Linked DNA regions of Homo sapiens: region 1 is linked to region 2. The links are contacts of gene promoters, found by promoter capture Hi-C in blood cells and fetal thymus (Javierre and others, 2016). All regions are on one chromosome and are shown on one strand. Each heading gives the region's core, a stretch centred on a gene start or on the middle of the fragment in contact. The rest is flanking DNA. Distances are from core to core; before and after follow the strand shown.

The links. The method cuts DNA at HindIII sites, captures the fragments that hold promoters and counts their contacts. A CHiCAGO score of 5 or more calls a contact.
Region 1: a contact is called between a fragment that was not itself captured here and the fragment with the promoter of GPBP1L1 in region 2, in 1 of 17 cell types (fetal thymus). The highest score is 6.3, in fetal thymus.

Annotation. Positions count from the first base shown.
Region 1 is chr1:46,248,775-46,251,917 of GRCh38, forward strand. RAD54L (RAD54 like) reads left to right here. Exons shown (of 18, transcript NM_003579.4): 3 at 1,226-1,345. Among named protein-coding and RNA genes, the nearest start is that of RAD54L, 2.6 kb to the left of the region's middle. The HindIII fragment of the contact is 894 bases long and covers 920-1,813 here.
Region 2 is chr1:45,684,736-45,687,791 of GRCh38, forward strand. It overlaps GPBP1L1 (GC-rich promoter binding protein 1 like 1), which reads right to left and starts at 1,798. Exons shown (of 13, transcript NM_021639.5): 1 at 1,677-1,798; 2 at 841-885. RefSeq lists enhancers at 1,414-2,012, 1,639-1,788, 1,849-1,898, 1,969-2,088, 2,109-2,438. The HindIII fragment of the contact is 19,533 bases long and covers 1-3,056 here.

The DNA of each region.
Region 1 (3,143 bases), core at 117-2,616, 560 kb after region 2:
CTCAGGGTAGTCACTAGAAGCTAATATAGCCTCAGTTTTCCTGGTGGGAAAAGATAAGCAAAAGAGCCAGTTGGATTGGACCTTTTGACTCTGCTTGGAAAAAAGGGCTACACAACAGCAATTAGCAGCTGGCTCTTTTGCTCTTTGTCCCCTGCCCAGTGTCACAGAACAGTAGAGTGTTCTGGGCCTACCTTGGAGTCCTGGGCTCACTTGGGCCTAGATCTGACAGGTTGTGTCCTTCCAGTCCTTGCTCATACTCAAGTACAGTATATTCTACTTTAGGTTGGGCCCTGGGCTCTGCTTCCTGTTTTGGAGGCTTGTTGGGGCTGGCTGTGGGCAGGACCTATGTAAACCAAAATAAATAGGACAGTGCAGCATGGACTTCAGAGAATAAGAGCAGTTCAAGAAGTGGGGGCTTGGCCACTGGAACTTTGAAGGAAGGGATCAGCTACGCAAGGACTAGAAGGCACTTTTTGGCAGGAGCAGTGTGTGAATAAGGTGTGGGGTAGGGGTGCTGGTGTTTGTTTCAGGTGTGTCTTACAGGATCACTGAGGCTTCAAATATCCTGGCAAGCTGGTACAAGTGTGTTCTTGCCTAATGGCTTGATGGGGCTTGCTCAATAGTTGTACCGTGGTGTGCAAGGGGCTTCTCTACCTGTGAAGGAGGCACATTGGCTGACCCTTGCCATGTACATGGGTCTCAGACTTGAACTTGGGGCAGCATTCTCTGCATCTGGGTCTGCTGTCAGTTGCTGGTTGCTTCTGAAGATGCTTTTAGTGCCAGTGTCCTCACAGCCATGGGTGGCCTGAGTGGGGAGTGGCCTCAGTGGCCTGGGAGTTGAAGGCAGCTGTATTCTTGCCTCTTGGAAACTCAGCGAAATGTTTGGTTGCTCCATCATTCCATGGAGCTTTTGGAGTGAAGCTTTGGGCCACCAGGACTCCATGCTGTTGGTAGACTTGCTCTTCAGAGGCCCATTTTATTTACCTCTTCCATTGCCCCGCTCAGTTTAGGCAGGTTATTTAATCTCATTAAGCTCTAGTTTTCTCACCTCTTAAATAAGGATAATAACTCTACATAATAGAGTTGCTATGAAGATGATACACTATGACATGTGTGAAGAATTTAGCACAGTGCCTGGCACTTAATAAGCACTTCAAGTGTTAGTTGCCATTATGGTGATTTCTGTGGTCTTCTAGACTTCACCTTTCCCAATTCTCTCTCCTAGACTCCTAGGAAACGGAAATCCAGCAGTGAGACCCAGATCCAGGAGTGTTTCCTGTCTCCTTTTCGGAAACCTTTGAGTCAGCTAACCAATCAACCACCTTGTCTGGACAGCAGTCAGCATGTAAGCCAGAACTGCAACCTGCATGTGTATGTCTGTGCCCAGTCACTCAGCCTAGGTAGACTCCTGTCCCTGTACACTCCCTCAGTGCTTTCTAGAGTGGCCAGAAGACACACATCTGTAGGGGCTTTGGACCTGCCCACAGCTGCTGGGGCCTGCTTAGAGAGGTGTGCCTGACTTGTGCCTGGTTTATAGTAGCTACATGGGCACCAGATATCAGATGGTTCAGATTCCTGAGGAAAGGAGGGTAAAGGAACTAGGATCCTCATGTCAGCTCAGACTCTGACTCTGTATATGACTTTAAGGTGTACCAGAGTCATGTATTTCCTCTAGTAAAGTCAAACTTAATCACCACCATGGCAGGTTCTGTGCATTGCCTCATGTAATTCTCACGTTTTAAGATGAGAAAACAGTCTCAGAAGGGTTAAGTAATTTGCTCAGAGTGGGTGGAGCAGATCTGTCTATCTCCAAAGCTTTTCCACTAAGCTTTATGAGGAATGTTTTGAAGGAAAAGTAGGAATACATAATGGAGATTAGTCATTTGTGCATTCAGCAAACATTTAAAAACGGTTTTGTGGCCGGGTCGGGTGGTTCACGCCTGTAATCACAGCACTTTGGAAGGCTGAGATGGGTGGATCAACTGAGGTTAGGAGTTTGAGACCAGCCTGGCCAACATGGTGAAACCCCGTCTCTACTAAAAATACAAAAATTAACTGGGCATGGTGTCATACCCCTGTAGTCCCAGCTACTCAAGTGAGGCATGAGAATCACTTGAACCCGGGAGGCCGAGGTTGCAGTGAGTCAAGATCACGCCACTGCACTCCAGCCTGGGCAAGAGTGAGACTCGGTCTCAAAAAAAAAAAACAAAAAACAAAAAACAAAACAAAACAACTAAATGAAAACAGTTTTGGGCCAGGCGCAGTGGCTCACGCCTGTAATCCCAACACTTTGGGAGGCCGAGGTGGATGGATCACCTGAGGTCAGGAGTTCAAGACCAGCCTGGCCAACATGGTGAAATCCCGTCTCTATTAAAAATACAGAGAAAATTAGCCAGGCATGGTGGTGCATGCCTGTAATCCCAGCTACTTGGGAGGCTGAGGCAGGAGAATCACTTGAACCCGGGAGGCAGCGGTTGCAGTGAGCCGAGATCATGCCATTGCACTCCAGCCTGGGCGACAAGAGTGAAAATCCGTCCCCAAAACAACAACAAAAAAACAACAGTTTTGTGTAATACTTGATAAATATAGATATATTACATAAGTTATAAAACACAAACACCCGTGAACCCATCATCCAGGACTAGAACATTGTCAAACCCATAATCCCTTTTCCCATCCCCAGAGGTAATCACTATCTTGAATTTTATCCATCATCTTTTGCTTTTATGATAGTTTTAGCATACATATAAAAATCACTAATACAGCCTTGGCAACAGAGTGAGACCACCTCAAAAAAAAAATCACTAATACATTGTTTAATTGGTTCTTTGAACTTTAAAAAATGGTGTTGGGTGGGCATGTTGGTTCATGCCTGTAATCCCAGCATTCTGGGAGGCCAAGGTAGGCGGATAGCTTGAGCTCAGGAGTTTGAGACCAACCCAGGCAACATGGTGAAACCCCATCTCTACCAAAAATACAAAAAAAATTAGCTGGGCATGGTGGCGTGTGCCTGTTGTCCCAGCTACTTGGGAGGCTGACATGGGAGGATCACTTGAGCTTAGGAGGTGGAGGTTGCAGTGAGCTGAGATTGGCACCATTGCACTCCAGCCTGGGTGACAGAGCGAGACCCCGTCTCAAAAGAA
Region 2 (3,056 bases), core at 548-3,047:
AGCAACTAGCTTGTAATTTCTATTAAAAACTTTAAATATTTTTCCTGTAAAACCACCAAAATAATTTAACAACAACAACAAAAAATCCTAGGGGTATTAACAAAAACCAACTTTTGTATTTGAAAAAACGTCAAAAGGTACATTGAAAACTGACTCCCTAGGAAAGATGAGTTTATTTTACTATTAATTTCAAAGTTCTCATTCACAATTAGCATTTCACTCTTTTATCTTTTAAATAGATACAGGCTTCAGCACCTTTCCAAATATTGAAATTTATTGGTTTTGGTTTCCAATCTATGACTTTTTGTTTAAACTTCTGGATCTATCGATTAAAAAAAAAAAGCAAACAAAAGACAGTCTCTTGTTCAAAAGGGCACGACAATCAGGTACTCCATACCTAAAGTATGTTTTCACTTGTTAAAATGTCTTACACTATTCTAGTAAATATCTCAAACTTAATAGCACCCTAATTTCCTTTCAAATATTGGATAAAAAAGACCTTAGAAAAGATCAGCAGTCTACTAAATTACAAATATAAGTCTAATGAGGAGTGACTACCAATCACTTTACTTTTGGATAAGATTTACACAAGAACACGACTTACTACTAAACTAAAACATGAACCACTATTATTAACTGTATTTTTCTGGTAAGCAATAAATGTCAATGTTAAAAATATTTCAACAAATATGACAAGCCAACTTCAGAGCACGAAGTTGGCAGATAAAATTGACACCACAGCACAATTTCAAAACTATAAGCAACTATTAAACACACACACCACCGCACCGCACCCATTCTTATGTAAACTTTTGGAATAGTCAACTTTGTGAGCCTCACCTTTGTTTTCACCCAGCATAAGGAGAGTTAAAGGTGAGACACCAACTGCAAAAAACCAAAATATCAAAAGATTCAGTTAATGTCCCCACAGGGGAAAGGACTAAAATCTTTAAACGTTAATGTATTTAAGTAATCGAAGGGCAGGGCACTTCCCCAAGCTACAGCCATTTTGGATTCAGACTGTCTTTCGAATTTCACGGGTTGGGGAGAACTAGATTTAAAACAACAGAAAAAAAATAACACTTAAAACATTTCAGGATCGACCAGCTTTCCCTGCCCCTCCAAGGAAAGGAGGTTGGTAGATATCGGATAGACTCAATCTAAGCGAAAACACCTCGCTACCACAGAGAACCGGAAAGCTGGGGGTTAAAACTTTTTTCCCCTCAGATATCCAACATTTGACTTACACTTTTTCCTCCTTAGGTTTTCCTTTGAAGGAAAACAAAAGCCCTTAGCTCTCATTTCAAGAAGGAAAGAAAAAAACCCGTAAGCCAAGTCACTCAACGAGCACCAAGCCGGATCGCCTGGAGAGGAGCCAAAGAGCCGCAGGTGAGCGTTCCGACCCGACGACCGAAGTTAAAGTAGGAGCGCTTTCGCGGAGCCCCGGCGACGCTCGCGTGCAAAGCTCCATGCACGGGGGAGGCGGGGGTGCCGCATCCGAACCACTTGACCCGTGGGCTCCGCTCGCCCCTCTCGGGTCGGACCTATACCCAACCACCTGTGTGAGAGCTTCTTTCAACTAGTTTTAACAGCCCGTTGGTTAGGCACCGGGCGGAGCCCCGCGCCAGAACGACTCCAGGATCTCCTACTGCCCCGTTTCCCAAACTCCCACTCACCGGGCAGCGGCGGAGCTATGGCCAGGGACTAGACGCTGCGTCTGAGGACGCGTCCCCAGCTTGTCGACCCGGCAGAGGCGGCTAGTCCACAACCATAACAAAGCTCTTCCCAAAATGGCTGCCCGGCCCACAAGGTCCAGGAGGGGCAGAGCGGGTGGAGGAGGAGGAGCGACCAGCAGCACGGCCCTCCCATCCCCCGTCCGACCCCGCCTTACACACGCCCACCTGAAGAAGCGCATGCGCAAGGGACTGCTCCGGCGACCCTCCCGGACGCCAGTTCCCTACGCTGCCAACGTTCGGCCTCCAGAACGGCGGTTATGCCCTGCCCCGCCCCCGGCTCCCTTCTTCGCCGCTTGAGGCGGCGCATGGTCACCTCTGCCCCCTACAGAATTGAATCCTCTGCCTTTCCTCGTGCCGCCTGAGGCACGGACAAGCCTAGTTTAGTACGCCCCTTCTAACCCCCTTGCCCACTTCCAGGGCCTGGGCGCGTATGAATGAGTGGGTGGGTATGCATGTGTGTATCCCTTTTTTCTTCACCCTCCCACAGCCCGCCCCTTGGCCAGTGCGCGTCCCGAAACTACCTCTACAAGGACTTGCAAACCGGTTTCGGAGGAACGTGTGTTTTCCGGCCCTTTCCCACCTTCCGCTCCTTACTTCTCGTGTGCGCGTCGTTGAGACTCCAGTCCCCAGCGGGCCACACGGCCTGGCCCCGGAGGCTGCGCGGCTGCGTCGGCCGCGCTACCCGCTGGGAGTAGTAGTTCCCCTGGAGCGCAGGCGTCACTCCCCCGCCCAAGCGAAGGGCGGGATTCCGGCGAGAGCCTGCGCTTGCGACAGTGCCGTTTCTCCTACCTGAAGTCTCATTGGGTATCGCACTACTGGAAGGGGCGGCGCTGCCATGACAGAGAAGGCAATAAAACTGAAGGCCTAGCTCGACTAAAAGCGCTTACTATTAAGGAAGACTTCGCTGTGGCTCCATCCGGCACGGAAAGCTAAACCGTGTAATGGCTGGCAACCAGGAAGCTAGACTACCTAGAATCCGGAGGATTGGAGGGACTGGCCGGCGTGGGCCCCTGAGATCTCCTACTACATGTCTTCAGTTTTATCCATAGACACGGAAGGGCACTAAAATTGCCTGGTGCCATTTCCTGTGAAACAAGTCTAGATAAGAGAAGGGACTTGCCCAAGGTCACATAGCCGAGAAATAAAGCCGAGGGCAGTAGGAGAAATGATCTGACTTTCCGAACCACCCCCAAGCCTAGGGCCCTTATCACCACACCTTTCATGGAAGTGAAAATCCTGCTCTTGTGCTCTTTAACCCTTAATGAAGTTTATAGGTCCCAGCAAAGAAAATGGATGTAAGAACTGGGCTTTTTTCCCCCT